Linked DNA regions of Homo sapiens: all the other regions are linked to region 2. Evidence: promoter capture Hi-C in 16 types of primary human blood cells and fetal thymus (Javierre and others, 2016). All regions are on one chromosome and are shown on one strand. Each heading gives the region's core, a stretch centred on a gene start or on the middle of the fragment in contact. The rest is flanking DNA. Distances are from core to core; before and after follow the strand shown.

Region 1 (2,725 bases), core at 5-2,504, 1.2 Mb after region 2:
GAGCAATGGCGCGATCTCAGCTCACCACAACCTCCACCTCCCAGGTTCAAGCAATTCTCCTGTCTCAGCCTCCTGAGTAGCTGGGATTACAGGCACCTGCCACCACGCCCGGCTAATTTTTGTATTTTAGTAGAGACGAGGTTTCACCATGTTGGCCAGGCTTGTCTCCAACTCCTGACCTCAGGTGATCCACTCCCTTGGCCTCCCGAAGTGCTGGGATTACAGGCGTGAGCCACCATGCCCAGCCAACAATTTTTGAAGTTAACTTCTGACTTGTTCCTTTATTTTAGACAGTAAATACTTCCTCAAAGATGTGTGTCAGGGTCCTATACAAAGGAGCCTACTTTTTTTTTCTGAAATGACAAAAAAAGTTGAATGCAGAGTTAACAGAACGCAATAGCCCTAGGGGCTTCCTCAAACTGAGAGATCAACTTACCTAGCACTTTCTTCACTGCAATTTGAGTTGTCAGGGTCCACAGTTACCTTCTGACCAAATGGCTCGTCTGTAAGGTCCAGCCAGGTTTGATTCTTAAATTTAATCATTATTCTTTTGGCCCAGAAGAGAATGCAAGGAATTCCATTGATGGAGACATTAACTGGGCCATGATGGCTGAATGCATTCCAAGGTTCTTTTTCTAAATGCCCTTCTTTGCTCAGATTGTAGTTGAGAGCCTAATTAACCAAATAAAAAGAACATAAGAGATGAATTTGTGTCTATGTTACAAAAGGCTTCCTAGAAATGAAAGAGCTAATTCACATCCTGTAACGATAAATACATGCCATTACACATTTATTAAAACCCACAAAATGTACAATACAAAGAAAGAAATTTGCACCAATTACTCTAGTGTAAATACAGATAAAAGAAAAATTAGTTAATAGAGAGCAGCAACTTAAGCTTATCAGTAACTAAAGATTATTATTATTATAGCAACAAAAGTGAAGCTGAATATTGTAATGAAAATATAAGAGAGCAAGTAAAATTAAGTATTTTAGGTTTTTCCCAACTATAAGATTCCATAATAAACAGAAAACCAAATACCACATGTTCTCACTTATAAGTGGGAGCTAAGCACTGAGTACACATGGACATAAATATGCAAACCATCAAAACTGTGGATGACTGGAGGATGGAGGGAGTGGAGTGGGTTAAAAAACCACCTATGGGATACTATACTCACTATCAGGGTGATGGGATTCATACCGCAAACTCCAGCATTATGCACTATTCTCACGTAACAAATCTGCACATGGACCCTCTGTATCCAAAATAAAAGTTGACTTTTAAAAAGAAGAGATTCCACAATATGTTTCCCCACCCAAATTTGAAGCAAAAATATGTTACTTATTAATACAATTATTATTTATATTTTCACAGAGCACAGACATGATTGAAATGTGTTTTTAAGTTTTTTAGAGCTAGATTACAATCTGGTTTCCTGACATAGCCATACCTGTGTGATTGGTATTGTTGTGAAATTCTGGAATGGTTTCATATCTCCATTATTCTGATCTGTCAAATAAATGATGATGTGGTTACCAAATGCTAAATGTCATTTATTAATGTAATTGGGAGCAATGCTAAGCACTGTCACATATATCAAGCTTGAGCCCCTTTTGGCTCATAATTTATGATGCACTAGTATAAAAGATTTCACATGAGTGACTCCTGGTACAGACACCACTGGTCAGGGAATTCTATCACAGAAAAAGCCCTTCTCCACCCCACAAGGAATCATGTGGGCAACTGGAGTCTTACCATTCCTCATAACCACTTCTTTATTTGAAGATGTTGGAGAACTGAAATTAGAAAAAAAAAAAAATTAAAAGATGCTGAATAAATATCCATAATTTAGATGTTACACGAAATTTTAAGAAGTATATTTCACTTTATTACATCTCAGAATAGAGGAGCAGAAACAGCCTGCCAAAACTGTTCATTTCTTAACAGTGAATTTCCCATTTAAACAGTAATATGTCTCTCCCCTGCTGTCTCTGCATTTAACAGAGAGAGAAAGTAACATATGTTCCTCAAAAAAGAAAATGAAAAATAAAGAAAAATTTTAGAAAGAAAAATTATTTTATTTATTTTTATTTTATTTTATTTTATTTGAGATGGAGTCTCACTCTGTCACCCAAGCTGGAGTCCAGTGGTGTGATCTCGGCTCCCTGCCACCTCTGCCTCCTGGGTTCAAGTGATTCTCCCGCCTCAACCTCCTGAGTAGCCGGGATTACAGGCATGCACCACCACACCCTATTAATTCTTGTATTTTTTGTAGAGATGGGGTTTCACCATGTTGGCCAGGCTGCTCTTGAACTCCTGACCTCAGGTGATCCACCCACCTCAGCCTCCCCAAGTGCTGCAATTACAGGTGTGAGCCATCATGCCCAGCCAGAAAAATTATTTTAAATCAAACCTGATTCTTATTCATTGAATGATATTATGGGGGGGCCTACTATGTGCCAAGCAATGTGCTACACGCTAAGGTTTAACCAATAACAAATATAAAATAACAAAGTAATAAAGCATATAAAACATTTTACAGTGAAATTTTATACTACATTGCATTGTTAACCTATCAAAGCCAAAACATCCAGCCTTTCAAAAAAAAGACTGACTCAATTACCAAAAAGTTATATTGGAAACTTATGAGCATATAAATTATTATATATATCCTTGAGTTTGTGTGTGTATATATCCTCTCTATATGCATACAAACACAAA
Region 2 (2,801 bases), core at 142-2,641:
CCGAGGACGTCCCCCGGGGCTCCCGGCACACGCGCGCGCCGCTGCCGCTAGACCTGCCAGTAAAGTTGCTCAACTAGAGCGGAGAACTAGGAGAGGGTGGGGAATATGTAAGGAAACGGAGGACTCCTGTAGTCTGGGCGAGAGGACTGACCCAGAGGCCCCTGATTCGGGTCCCCGAGCCACCTTTGTCTGCAGTGCGCTCTGGGTGCCGGTTTGCTTGTTGAGATGGGAGCGACAGACCCTATTTCACTCTTCAGGGTGAGAAAAATTGTTGCACATCCCTGCCGATTCAGAACAGGCTTTTCCCGCCCAGGGGCCTCCCAGACCTCCGCGGGGCTCCAACAACCCCACCCCCCATCCTCTGCTCCTTCCCTGCTGGCCCCTTCGCACCGCGTGCAGGACAAAAGAACCCAGGGGCGCCGGGAGAGAACCGTGACAGTCCCCAAGTCGTCAAAGAGACACGGCGGGGATCCTGCACCTCCCCCGGCCGGACCTCCTCCCAGACTGCCTGCGGTCTGAAGGGGTCAGGTCCGCGCAAGGTCCCAGGCTGCTTGGGCGCCGGGTCGCACTGTCAGGAGCTGCCCGGGAGTGGCTTTCCAGGAACACCAGGCACTGACCACACACCAGGGGCTGGGAAACCAGGTGGCCTGCACCAAGGCGGCTTCGGGGACTTGTCTGTGGCAAGTCTTGGTAGTCCCCATTCAAACTTTTGCCTCGAGCGTGTTAAGAACAACAACAACAAAAAAATCAAAGTGCCAAAGGTCCCTCTCTTCTCTCCAGCTCAAGAACCCACCACTTTTCTATGATTTCTTTACAATTTATTCCCTCCCTTCCCCCAATTCCGTTAGTCATTTTACCCCCCACCCCACCCTGGGTTTCTTTTGTCTGAATCTTTTTCAACACCAAGGTCCCTCTGTATGCCTCTCCCCAAAAGCCCTTATGAAAGTTACCTGCATTTTTTAAGTGCCTACATTTTCTTAACTTCGCCTTACAGCTCTTTGCCTTAATTAAAGCCTTCTACCAATTGCTTCTTTTTTCTAAGCTCGCGGGTTTTTTTCTATAAGTTTTTTGTTTTTGTTTTTTAAGGGGGGAACAAAAGAAACGTGATTACCTTGGAAGGCGGCTTATTGCAGTTTGGGGGGAAAATTCACTGCAGCGCTGCGCGACTGGGTTCGGCGTTGCCCAGGCGGGTCACATAGGAAGCGTGGTGGCCCGGGGAAGGATGCGGAGGGTGCGGGACGGTGCTGGAAGATGCGGGAGGATGCGGGGCTGGCCGAAGATCTTGGTCCCAGCTCCTGTCCACAACACCTAATGTTCTCGGCTGTTGCGTCCGCACGCCTGGAGTTCTTCCCCAGAAAGGCTCGGGGCAGCTCGCCTGCAAGTTCAAATGCGGGTTGTGACACCCATCATCATTATATCACTGTACCGTCAGAGCCGAGGAGGAGACTCAGCGAGAAGAAGGAGGAGGGAGAGGAGGAGGGTTCATTCACAGGCTCCAAAAGCGCTCCGCAGCTTCAGCCACTCCTAAGAGTCCAGGCTTGGAAAGCAGGCGGAGGGGCGGAAAGGCAGCTCCCCGCGCCTGCGGTAGGGACCGCCTGCCTCCCTCCCCAGGCACTCCCACCTCTTGGCGTTTCTTCCTGACAAGAAGTACCAATCGGCTTGGGGACAGCAGCGCTCCCCATTCAGGGACTCACTCAGTAACATCGCTCTGCTCGCGGAAACCACTGCCCTCCCACTCCTTCCCCACCCCCATTTCCCCGCCCCCCGTGCAGCTAGTTCTGGGTTAGGGGAAAGGAGCCCCCAGGCTCTTAGGGGGCAGGCCAGCAATAGACAATTGAGTACGATCACTTCTTCTCGGGAGCACACAAAACTGTAAAATCAGCAAAGAACTTGGTTACAGCGTGTTTACGCGCCCACAGAGCTTGCCTGTCCCATCAAAGGGAAGTGTCAGGCTCAAGGCTCCTGCCAACCTGAAAGAGACACTGAGAAAACGAGATCCTTCGGGGACCTAGAGGGAAAGTGTAAGAATTCCCCACTGCACTCCCAGGGAACTGCCCAATGGGGAGCCCGGCTTCAAAAGACCCTGGTAATAAAAGGCTGGACAGGAAATTCCCCCAGGCAAATCCCTTGTCGGATTCAAAGAGAATACTTTTCCTCTGCCACAAATCTCTCCCCACATAAGTCTAGATTCTGCTTTCTTCGTTCTTCCTTTCCTTCAGTCTTTCCAAGTATCTCTGAGTAGAATATTTGATAATTTTCCTGAGTAACAGGGACTTCTTGGAAGTATCAATCACCTTTCATGCTTTCCGGAAATAAGACCATAATCTTTCATGCGTATATGCGATTTTTTTTCTTCAGTCAGGCCCACCCCACTGTGTAAACAGCATCAACACATGGAAGAGTCCCCTGCATTGTGTTACAAAAGATTTCCAATAGGACCTTACAGAGAAAAGGGTCAAACAGTTGACACAAAGGATTTCTGTCCCCTTAGAAAAGAGGGACTTTGGATTTTCCTTTTCTTTGAAGTCAAGTATGAGTTTATACAATAGGAACAAAATAAATCCAAGGTGCACATCAGTATAACACTAGGGATACTAGAATGGATGGCAAACTTTTCCTTCTACACAAATATGAAAGTATCCTCACAACTCTTCTCTCTGAAGCCTCTACTTAGAAAATTATATTAAACATAGGACCTCAAAACAGTAGTGATTAAAGATGAAAGCCAATTTTTCCTCTCAACTTCTTTGATTAGTTTGGTTTAAACTTATGCTTTAAAACTTTTAGTAACTTAGACTCCT
Region 3 (2,700 bases), core at 16-2,515, 1.2 Mb after region 2:
AAAGCACTAGCCCATTCTACATCTGCACAGAGATGTCACCTTAAACTACCCTATCCAGAGTAGCCACCCCCATCCCCAAGTCACTATCACCCATCCAGCTATATTTTCTCTATAGCTCTACAGTATGTAAAAATCATCTATTTAATTATTTAATTTACATCTATCTAACTGGTCTGTCCTCTCACATTTAGAATATAAACTGTATCAGAGCAGAAACCTTCACCCTCTTAATTTAACCGCCATATTCCCGGTACCTACAACAGCGTCTGGCACATAGAAGGCATTTTTAAACATCCTTGCTGAGTGAACCAATATCCCAGAAACCTCTCACAGCTAGTTCATCTTACAGGAGAAACAGTATTAAAGAGTTAATTAAATGGCCAGGCGCGGTGGCTCACGCCTGTAATCCCAGCACATTGGGAGGCCGAGGCGGGCGGATCACTCGAGGTCAGGAGATCGACACCAGCCTGGCCAACATGGTGAAACCCCCTCTCTACTGAAAATACAAACATCAGCCAGGCGTGATGGTGGAAGCCTGTAATCCCAGCTACTCAGGAGGCTGAGGTGGGACAATCGCTTGAACCCGGGAGGCGGAGGTTGTAGTGAGCCAAGATCGCACCACTGCACAACAGCCTAGAAGACAGAGTGAGACCCTGTCTCAGAAAAAAATAAAAATAAAAATAAATAAATCTATAAGTAAATGACTCGCCAGTCAAAATAAACGGCAACTTTAGGGTTAAAGGCCCAATCTGGCTCCAAAGCTTGGGGTTTTAGTTACTACACTACATTGCTTCACTATATTTTACAATTTACTAGCTGCTTATAAGTATGAATTAAGGCTCAGAAGTCTAATTTTCCAGACTACTCGGAGGACTCTCGCCCCACTCCACTCCACAAAGATTCAGCTCAGCGACTCCTTCCTACTCTGACCTAGCCCCGCGTCCCGCTCTCAGTGGCTTGGGCAAGAGCGCCTGCGCGGTGAGCGGGTCCCATAAAACGCATTCTGGGATTGGTAGTCCATGTTCCTCCGGTCTCCAGCATTCAAAAGAAAAAGGGGGAAAAAAAACCATGCAAATTAGATATCTCTGAATTTCTTGCAAATTAAATAAGACGCAGATTCTGGCTCAGGAAAGTGATGCAAACGCGTCGTTTTCAAAGGAGAGACCCCAGCCTCGGGTCAGGCGCGGCGCAGACAGCGGCGCGGGGTCCTTGGCTGGGCGGGGCTTGCTCGCGGTGGCTTGTGGCTCCTTCCTGCGGTGCTTCTCTCTTTCGCTCAGGCCCGTGGCGCCGACAGGATGGGTGAGCTGTTGTGGCCGGTTTAAGGGCGCTGCAAGCGGGACTTGGGGTCTTGGGGACGGGCGGGCGGATGCGAATAGAGTAGGGCGGGGGATGCCATGGAGAGGCTCCATGGGGGAGGGCCGGGGAAGCGCCGCTCCAGGAGGCACGTGGTCCGGCGCGGAAGGGGCCCATGAGGCGTGGAGGCCGCCGAGGTCGGGGTACCGAGGGACGCAGGGAGGCCAGCGCTTCCTCCCGGGCATTCGAGCGGGGCCTCGTCCTTCGGGAGAACACATTCTCCGGAGCCCTCTTCGAACGTTTATTAGTCGGTTCAGGGCAACTTGAAGGCCAAATGTTTGGCCCACAGGCCAATAAATAGTACGAGAGCCAATCGGCTTAAGGGTTTATTCCAGGTGAGGCGAGTGTCTTAGAAGATGGGAAACACGTAGATGGCGTGTTTTTACGGAAGAACTAAAATATTTAATTTTTAGGCAAGTGTCGTGGACTTCGTACTGCTAGGAAGCTCCGTAGTCACCGACGAGACCAGAAGTGGCATGATAAACAGTATAAGAAAGCTCATTTGGGCACAGCCCTAAAGGCCAACCCTTTTGGAGGTGCTTCTCATGCAAAAGGAATCGTGCTGGAAAAAGTGTAAGTCCATTGCTCCCGTCAAGTTTTAGTTTATTATAGGAATTCGAGACATGAACTTACGAATTCTTGTTTTGAAAGTAATTGCAGGTTTTTGTGTAGTAGTATTCATTTGGGCATTGTGGGGTAAAATTGCAAAGCGTTTGTTCTATTTAAAAGTTGGTAAAATTAGTTTTTGGGAATTAGGTAGTTAAGGTTTTAATTTAACGTTGGCCTGGAAGGAATTGGAGAAGATACTAGCAATGATGAAGTAAAGGACACAAACACCTTTACTGTGGGAGTTGTTATAAGTAAATGGCACGTGTCAGCTATTGAACTTTATCGACTTGATAAAACTAAGGTGAAGAGAAGTGACTTGCATCAGAATTAATTGAGGTCATACACCTAAGATTGAGACATGAAACTGCCAGTATTTGACTGGTTTTGACTTTTTAAAATAATAATTTCATATAGTTCTATCATATTTGATGGTAGAGCCATTTTAACCCAGACTTTTTTTTTTTTTTTTTTTTTTTTTGAGACAGTCTAGCTCTGTCACCCAGGCTGGTGTGCAGTAGCGCAAGACTCCCTGCAACCTTAGCCTCCCAGGTTCAAGCATTTCTCCTGCCTCAGCCTCCCAGGTAGCTGGGATTACAGGCGCCCACTACCACACCAGCTAATATTTTGTATTTTCAGTAGTGATGGGGTTTCACCATGTTGACCAGGCTAGTCTCAAACTCCTGACCTCAGGTGATAATGCCTGCTTCGGCCTCCGAAAGTGCTGGAATTACAGGCGTG
Region 4 (2,700 bases), core at 97-2,596, 1.1 Mb after region 2:
ACAAATTAAATGTGTCTATTGTCTCATCTTTGGGTCCAGCCTGATTTTTATTTTTACATCTTCTAGAAAAAGTCATTGTAATTATTGCTAATTCCTAGCAGCCTGCCCTATGAATTTCTTATAGTTTGTGTGCACAAAGGAAAGGAAAAAGGAAAGGAAGGGAGGGAGGGAAAGAGGAAGAAATAAAGGACTGGCAACATATGATGCATTTCATGAGTTATAAGTGATTGGACTGCGTATAGGGCTTTATCACTGGACTGTGTGTTTGAAAATCAGAAGTAAGATGAAAAATATAGGGGAAAGCTGAGTAAAGACTTATAAAAGACAAATAAGAATGGTTTATTTCAGGGTATAATTATTCTCATGGAATGAACTGAAATGGAATTTTAGATGGAAGGAGTAGGTAGATCCCAGATAGTTAATATTAATTTTTTTTTTTAGTTTCCACACTGTATTTCAAACCAGTTTTAAACTGCCCACACTATTTGATTTCATGTTTCATCATTTGCTGAGTTTAATCATTTCCATAAAGGAAGCAACAAATGATGGCCAAATGAAAACAGAAACTTCAAGAGCTGGGACATCATTAGTTAGTGAGGAGCCCAGCTTCTTCCCAGGAAGCCTGCTCAGCTATGGGTTCCAGACAGAGTAAGAATCTCTCCTGAACTTACACAACCTTAAGTCAAGAATGAAAAGTGGCTAATAGGAGAGAGACAGATGAAAAAGGATGAGCTCTCACTAACTACTCTGCCAAGGTTTTTACAGGAAGCAGCAATAAGGGTTTCATGTATTTCACACTTTTCTCTAGTATGGATTTTACCAAATTTCAGTAAAGACACATGGCAATATTTCTTTCTGGGCATTAACTTAAACCTATTTTTCAATTCTTATTTTTAGACATCAATTCCTGTGGTTGGCATTACAGAAGTGTTTCTGGAACGTGGCCATGTTGCCAATGATTTTTAATGGATGCCAAAGAAGAAAAAGCATTCTAGCTTGGAAGAAATACTTTAGGCCGGAGAAGAAAGCGCAAGGCAGTCTAAATGCAAACCATTTATGTTAAACAAATGCAGCCATGCTGAAACAATAGAGTCAGTGCCTTAGTCAAAGAATACTGTGACATGCTTATGGATATGGAGACTTGTATAAGAAATATAAAAATGATCTTTTTTGGTACTGGGGAAAATTAGGATATTTGCCTCAAATATTATGCTGTGGGTTGAGACCCATTCCTAGAAAAGTTAGAAAGCTTTTTTTCCTTGCCAATCTAAAACAGACACACGAATAAGAATAGCTGGGGTGAGCAGGCCTTGGACATTTAGGCACGTGGGCATGGCATGAGTCATGGGAACATGACAAAAGGAAATCCAAAGACCTGGGGTCTTGTCCCAGATCTGTCATTTGCTAAATATGAACCATGAGTCAGTACTCATCTAAGCTTCTATTTCTCATTAATAAGAATGGGATGATTTTTATACTTGCCCACTCAGGGTCCTTAAGAAAGGGGTTCTAGGCCGGGTGCGGTGGCTCACGCCTGTAATCCCAGCAATTTAGGGGGCTGAGACGGACGGATCACCTGAGGTCAGGAGTTTAAGACCAGCCTGGCCAACACAGGGAAACCTCGTCTCTACTAAAAATACAAAAATCAGCTGGGCATGGTGGATCATGCCTATAATCCCAGCTACTTGAGAGGCTGAGGCAGGAGAATCACTTGAATGCGGGAGACGGAGGTTCCAGTGAGCCGAGATCCTGCCACTGCACTCCAGCCTGGGCAACAGAGCAAGACGCTGTCTCAAAAAAAAAGAAAAAAGAAAGAAAAGGAGATCCAGTACCATATCAATGGCAAACCAGTAATATATTTTGGGACTAATAATAAGCCCTCATAAATTGAACCTCTTAAGAAATAAACATGTCTTTCTGGCTTAAAGAAGCAAAACAGAGCTTCGGCTTTCCAGCAACTTTTAGTAGAACAAGTGGGAGAGATGTCAGACAGTACTAACATTTAAGAACTGCAAAATATTAAGAATGAATGTTTAATGTGAGTGTTGGTCAGAGTTAATGTCAATCTTTTTGGTGCCCAAGGCACTGACAGTCAGTTCAGCATCTAGTCATGCCTAAAGGCACTTTGAGTCTAATGCAGCCTCACTCGATACCACCTTATAGGTGATGTGGAAAGTCTAACAAGGCTCAGTCTGGATTTTTCTCAGGCTCCATCCTCCTCAGTCTCACTTTGACAAAGCTCTTGAAAAAAGTTCAGCTTATCTGACTCCAACAGGGTGTTGAGTTTCTTGTGTCAGAGCTCTCGAAATAAGGAACTATTCTTAGCTGGGTTTACTTGGGAAATATTTAGCTGTGGTTGTTAGCTATTCTAGGAATGAGACTGGCTTTGGATGGAATCAGGTTGGCGTCTCCACTAGAAGAATGTCTGTTCGTTGAGGAAGAGAGCATGGGGATTGTAACTTCAGTTTGAATGTTTTAAACTATCTTGTGGGTAAATAGAAGTTCCTGCAACCCAGTTCCTCAGCATAACTCATCCATGGCTCTGTGCTTACTTACAAAAGGTGAGGCAAACTTGCAGTCAGCATGACCCTAACTACCATGTCGGTTGGTTATGTTTACTATCTTATCCACTAATGAAAGACAAGATTCTTAGGTGCAACGAAAGTCACCGACCTCCTGAAACATACCCTAAACATCTCC
Region 5 (2,787 bases), core at 274-2,773, 1.1 Mb after region 2:
AGGTGGCTGACGGCCAACTGGGGATCAGAAAACAACAATTTCCCTGGTCAGATGTAAGCTTTGCCCAGCATGTTGACTTTATAAACCACCCTGTAAGCTCAGTAAATTTAATTGGTAGATAGGGTTGTCTTTCCTTGGCTCATTTCCCACCAATTAATATTACCGGCATGAGTACCCATATGATCAGACGTACACTAACAAGACTCTGTCTAGACAGGCAGAAAAGGTTTTTTCTTTGTATTTTTTCCAGAATTAGGCATTAATGTGCTACTCGTGAATGGAACAAATGTTTACATAAATCCATACTGGGAAAAGAAATTCTTCTCTCAAACACTTCCAGGGGAGACATCATTGGCAGGATTAGCTGCATATTGGAGCTGCCATATTAGTTCATTTTCCCTGTACTTCAAAGATGCAGGAGCCAACAAGAGGGAGGGCACCACAGTAAGAAATGTGAGTAGCAAGGTTATAAATCAGTACTTTTGACAGGGTGATTCCAGACAGCTTTGCTTTAACCAACATTCGACCTTACTTTATAGTGGTGAGGAGGTATTGAGCATAGTTAAGTGTTAAAAAATGACCCTGGCCTTCCCTACAATGTGGTATGAAAAAATATAAAAGGCACTTTTAAACATTACTTTGAAAATCTTAAGTGAGGTATATAGTACAGAAATATCTGTTATCCAAAATCTAAGATTTTATTGTTTTCAAAAGAGGAATTTTTAAAAGTACCCCCTCCAAGGCAAACAAAAAATGTCAAGCTGTGAGACGTAAATAAAACTGCAAACTACCTTTTTCCCAACTACTCAACTCACAACTTTCCCCAATCCCTCTTTAGTGTTTGCTTATACCGGACAAATTACGAAACTAAATCTGCTAGGGAAGGCTAAGTTCATAAGGTTTTGGGTAAGTAACTCCAACAACCTTCATTGATTATTAACATTATGGGTCCCTCCATTCTCACAAGTGATCGAACCAAGTCAACACTTGGCACATTTTCAAAATTCTGCTAAGAAATAGCAGAGGACACAGAAGTATTATATAATATGGTCCCTGCCCTCAAGGAGTTCATAGTCAGATTATCCATACCAGTTTAATTCTTAAGATGACTGCTGTAAGAAACTGAAGCCCAACAGACAACATCATGATAGTTTTTCTGTTGAAAAGGAAGATTTTCATCAGTTGAATGGACAGTGACAACATTTCACTTTTGGAGAGAGGAAATTTGGTCCTCTAAACATGAGGTTCTATGATGGGCTGTAGTCATTGTATCCATTTCCTCCGGGCCCCAAATAAAGACGTGACCCAAACTGGGTCACACAAAGCCCTGCCTGTGGATGTCTTTGATACGGAGCTAACAAAGAGGCTGCTGCTTCTCTGGAAAGCTGTGGGAGGCATTGACACTGGAGCTTCCTGTGGCTGCTGTTCGCTGCTCAGGGAGGGTGCCCCACTGAGAGGATAGGGCCAATACGCAGAGAGAAGCAGAGAGAAGAGGGACGGCACAGCACTGTACACTCTGCTTCCAGAAACCTGAGGTTAACCATACCCTGCCCTTCCCAAAGTTTGGTTATGTTTGCCAGCAGGTTCCATCCTTGGCAAGCTCGTTGGAGTTGGACTTCTGTCCCTTACAACCAAAATGTGTCTTGACATCAGTTGTTCTCCATCTTCAACGTACCTAACAAAAGAAATGGAGTCTTACACTTCAGCAGGAATTACATGATACATATGACATATTATATACGAATTTTGAAATTACATGATAGATATGACATATTATATATGAATTTTGACTCTAAAGGAGCTCAACCATTAAACTTCCTACAAAGTGTGGATGTGGCACCTATTCTTGGTCTTCAAATTATCTCAGATGACTGTCTTGAATAACTTTACACACAGAACAAGGCCTAGACTGATGCATAATTCTTAAACTATTTGTTCTACACATCTTGGACCTGTTGAAATGGCCCAAAGACTACCCACCCCGCTGAGCACTGAAACTACCTATTCCTGCCTTCTAATTCCAAGTGCCCTCCATTCACTGTCATCTGCTGCTTCTGCACCTCCACAGGCACAAATACTAGGACAGCACTGACATACCCGGTGTGATTATTCACAAACACATCTTTGCATCACCTGCAAGTTCTCTGCCTTCTACTGAAGCCTCTGTGGAATCCACTTCTCCCTCCTGGCCATGGGGCCACCACAGCAGCTGAATCACCTGCCCTTCCTTCTTCCGTCCCTCCCAACTCAGAAAACCCCTGGTGTCCCCATGAGGACCACATTTTGAGAACCACTAAACAAGAGGCGTCTCTATGATTCTTGCCAACACTATCATCTCTGCATAATAGCACAAACTTTTCTTTCTCTGAGTGTTCTTTTTTGGCAATTAAAGGGGCAGATTTTAGAAGTTTCTCTCCTTTCTATCCTACAGTTATAAAAAAACGAAAAATGGGCAGTACATGAACCCAACCAAGAATACTGTTTTTTCAGCTGCTTTTCCTTAACCTTGAGATTCCTGAATTGAAATGGGGGAGGGAGAATAATTAGGTATGATGTTTGAGAAATTGATTCCTAATAGTTTGTGAGGTTTAGAGTATTCGTCATTTCACCCACTATTCAAGTGTTTCTTCGTGGTTTGCTCCACAAAGAAAAAGGTCTCTTGGGAGTCAAATCTGTTTGAAATTATTCAGCTCAAAGACTGACACTGTGAAATTAGAGAGAAAGAGGTCAAATAACCTTATCGGTGGATTTTCAGAGTAAAGCATGGTCTGGCATCATGTGGACGTT
Region 6 (2,700 bases), core at 195-2,694, 1.1 Mb after region 2:
AGACTTTCCATGCTGTCGCTGGGCATTCTCAAAAATGTCTGAAATACTTTTACATTTCTCCTCACTTCAATTGGCAGTGTTATGTGTTTCTTCATGAAAGAATAAGTTTAAAAGGTAAGAGAATAAGATAAATACATTCTGCAATGTTAAAGGTCACACATGGCTGGCTTGAGTTTACCATTCTTGGGTCCTCGAGTTCAACTCACTGACTTCAATTCCTGATCCATGTGGTAGCTCCAATGTCTACTATTCTGCTGGGCTGGCCCTTGGTAGGTACTAAATAAATCTTTATTGAATTCAACTAAATTAATTTGTTACTGAGGCATTTCAGGCTGTGCCATATAAAGATATTAATAATAGCCCTAACATTTACCTCAAAATACTTTCCAAGTCTTGTTAGCTTACCCACTCATCTACAAAAGATTTACACTCACATTTCTATGAGTAGGATTTAGGAACTTAGCTCCATGAATTAGATTATACTTTTAAGAATTGTAAGAGTTAACAGTCACAAACCCCAATAGACTATTCTAACATGGCCATATTTTACACAAATTCGAAATAGTGTAACATGAAAAATTCATATAGTCTCTTCACACTCAAAATGTGAAGTAATGTAAGTGCCTCAAATTTAAATTCTTTCTGAGGATCAAAGAATTTTAAGGCTGGCAGGCCAAATGAACAGTAAAACTGAGTTCAGGATATGGCCTGAATTATGCAAGTTTGGAATTAAGCAGTCTTTAAGGCCACATCCTTTTCATAAATGCCACCAACCACAACACATCACCAAGGGACAACACAAAGGAAGCACTGCTGTGTAACAACTTGGTGGCTGAAGTCTTGGAGGCCAAACAGGCTCAGAAGCTTCAAGGCAAAGCAGCCGTCCTCAGCCTCTCAAAAATCTATGCGATCACAGAGACAAATGCTGAGACACCCAACAGGAAGATGAAAATTAAACTGAAGAGACCCATGACCAAATTGCACCCAAGCATCCAAATGTTGGTGGTGCTAGCCCTGAAACAGCGGGCTCCCAGGACTCAGAGAACAAGTTATCCATCTCCGCTCTCAAACTCTCTAGCCCTTATAGAACCATAGGCTCTCAGACTTCACCTGGATGAGAAACCACAGCTCTCCCAAAGCCTCATCATTTCAGGGTGAGAGATGCTGACAGATAAACAAATTATCAAATGACAAAGTGAGTTTAGCCTTTGTGCACTGGAAGTAATGGCTGGAAATGTTCATTACCAATTCCACAAAGACAGGCAAACATTCACACTGAGAGAGAGAGACAGAGAGAGAGATAGAGAAAGAGTGAGACAGAGAGAGAATGAGTAAGTCTATGGTTTCCCTTTCTCCACTGTATGCCCAGTGAAATTGTCCCTGGTATTTAAGAAAGCCAGGACAGAATGAAAACCTAAGAAAAAAAAAGGAATTGAGGTAAAGACCGGCGTGACAATGAAAGTAATGAAGGTGGAAGTCTTTTACAAGCACTTGTGAATCTGAAGCAAGAAGTAGCTTCTTTTCTTGGGTTTTATCCTTCTAGTGGCCGTCCTAATAGGGAAAAGCTAAAGCCAGTCACTTTTGGTGCCTGTATCAACCTTGTAAGACACACTAAATTCTCTCTGTAATGCATAACTGTCAGCCTCTCTCACTCATCTGGAGTGATTTTTCCAATTAAGCGTGACAGGCATTTCACTCAAGCCCCCTATTCTAACTCGGAGGCTGGGTCCTGAAGAATGAGACTTCAGTGGCTGCTGACACTTCTTTTGTCACACAATCCTCTCTAGACAAACAATATTGACTACAAATTTGTCAGGACTTTCTATGGCCATCAATCATGCCTGCCCTTTTGCCTACTTGTGCACTCCTGTATTTCCCCTCACTCCCATGCTTAAAACAAGACAAAATTAAACTCAAAAGTGCAACCCTCAAAGTTAGAATCAGCATAAATCCTGGAGTACCTGCAATTTGAATATTCATTTGGCACAACTAATGTACTCCTTACTCTAGAAATTAAAAGCTTTAAAATGATGTACTGCCTCAGAGAAATGGGCGCCAGAGTTTCATGTCAGAATGCTTTGGTGTTTGTTGTTTTTTGTGTTTGTGTGTGTGTGTATATGTGTGTGTTTTCATTCTTACATGAGTTCTCAGAAAGTACAGGCAGACAAAGGTCCAACTCGCAGGTCTCAAACTGCAATGCCTTCAAGGCTCATAGAGCAGAGATGGGGGCAGAGTTAAAAGCATTTGTTGCTGTAGAAATCGTTATTTATTATTAAGAAATAGGGGTGTAGAATGTCTTTTTCTTTTGGCAGAAGCCGAGGCCCTGAATCCTGCCTGTATGAATGACATGTAAGCTGTGGGCCTGTGATTCTTTTTTCTGTTCGTTTTTCTTCAGTTTGGCTTCATCTCAAGAAAAAAAAAAAAAAAAGTACACATCTTCCCCTACGAGAGAAAGGATGACTTACAGTACTGAGTGTGTGTGTGTGTGTGTATGTGTGTGTGTGTGTTGCCCTGAAGTAATGCCAGCATCCAGAACTGCAACCTTACCTTTTCAATCCTTAAGAACCAGAGACATAGTTGCTCCTGCTCAGCAAAGGCTACAGCCAGTTCCAAGAGCTCCATTAGGACTTGCATTAGGACCAGGCCACCACCACAGTGAGCTCCAAGGTGGGCTGGTCCACGTCTTGTGATCAAAATGAC

What was found. Contacts are between HindIII fragments. The CHiCAGO score rates a contact against its expected background, and 5 or more counts as called.
Region 1: a contact is called between a fragment that was not itself captured here and the fragment with the promoter of VCAN in region 2, in 3 of 17 cell types (endothelial precursors, M2 macrophages and fetal thymus). The highest score is 7.4, in endothelial precursors.
Region 3: the fragment with the promoter of RPS23 here is called in contact with the fragment with the promoter of VCAN in region 2 in 1 of 17 cell types (fetal thymus); the score reaches 8.0 in fetal thymus.
Region 4: a contact is called between a fragment that was not itself captured here and the fragment with the promoter of VCAN in region 2, in 2 of 17 cell types (fetal thymus and megakaryocytes). The highest score is 7.9, in fetal thymus.
Region 5: a fragment that was not itself captured here is called in contact with the fragment with the promoter of VCAN in region 2 in 3 of 17 cell types (endothelial precursors, fetal thymus and megakaryocytes); the score reaches 6.0 in endothelial precursors.
Region 6: a contact is called between a fragment that was not itself captured here and the fragment with the promoter of VCAN in region 2, in 5 of 17 cell types (megakaryocytes, fetal thymus, endothelial precursors and 2 more). The highest score is 13.0, in megakaryocytes.

The regions. Positions count from the first base shown.
Region 1 is chr5:82,302,562-82,305,286 of GRCh38, reverse strand. It overlaps the pseudogene ATP6AP1L. Among named protein-coding and RNA genes, the nearest start is that of RPS23, 26 kb to the right of the region's middle. The HindIII fragment of the contact is 707 bases long and covers 901-1,607 here.
Region 2 is chr5:83,470,334-83,473,134 of GRCh38, reverse strand. VCAN (versican) reads right to left here and starts at 1,391. Exons shown (of 15, transcript NM_004385.5): 1 at 1,112-1,391. RefSeq lists an enhancer at 90-962. The HindIII fragment of the contact is 5,577 bases long and covers 1-2,801 here.
Region 3 is chr5:82,276,919-82,279,618 of GRCh38, reverse strand. RPS23 (ribosomal protein S23) reads left to right here and starts at 1,265. Exons shown (of 4, transcript NM_001025.5): 1 at 1,265-1,299; 2 at 1,767-1,926. The coding sequence starts at 1,296. It also overlaps the pseudogene ATP6AP1L. RefSeq lists an enhancer at 945-1,274. The HindIII fragment of the contact is 8,285 bases long and covers 764-2,700 here.
Region 4 is chr5:82,334,661-82,337,360 of GRCh38, reverse strand. No RefSeq gene overlaps it. Among named protein-coding and RNA genes, the nearest start is that of RPS23, 58 kb to the right of the region's middle. The HindIII fragment of the contact is 189 bases long and covers 1,252-1,440 here.
Region 5 is chr5:82,384,413-82,387,199 of GRCh38, reverse strand. No RefSeq gene overlaps it. Among named protein-coding and RNA genes, the nearest start is that of RPS23, 110 kb to the right of the region's middle. The HindIII fragment of the contact is 2,926 bases long and covers 61-2,787 here.
Region 6 is chr5:82,359,243-82,361,942 of GRCh38, reverse strand. No RefSeq gene overlaps it. Among named protein-coding and RNA genes, the nearest start is that of RPS23, 82 kb to the right of the region's middle. The HindIII fragment of the contact is 1,156 bases long and covers 867-2,022 here.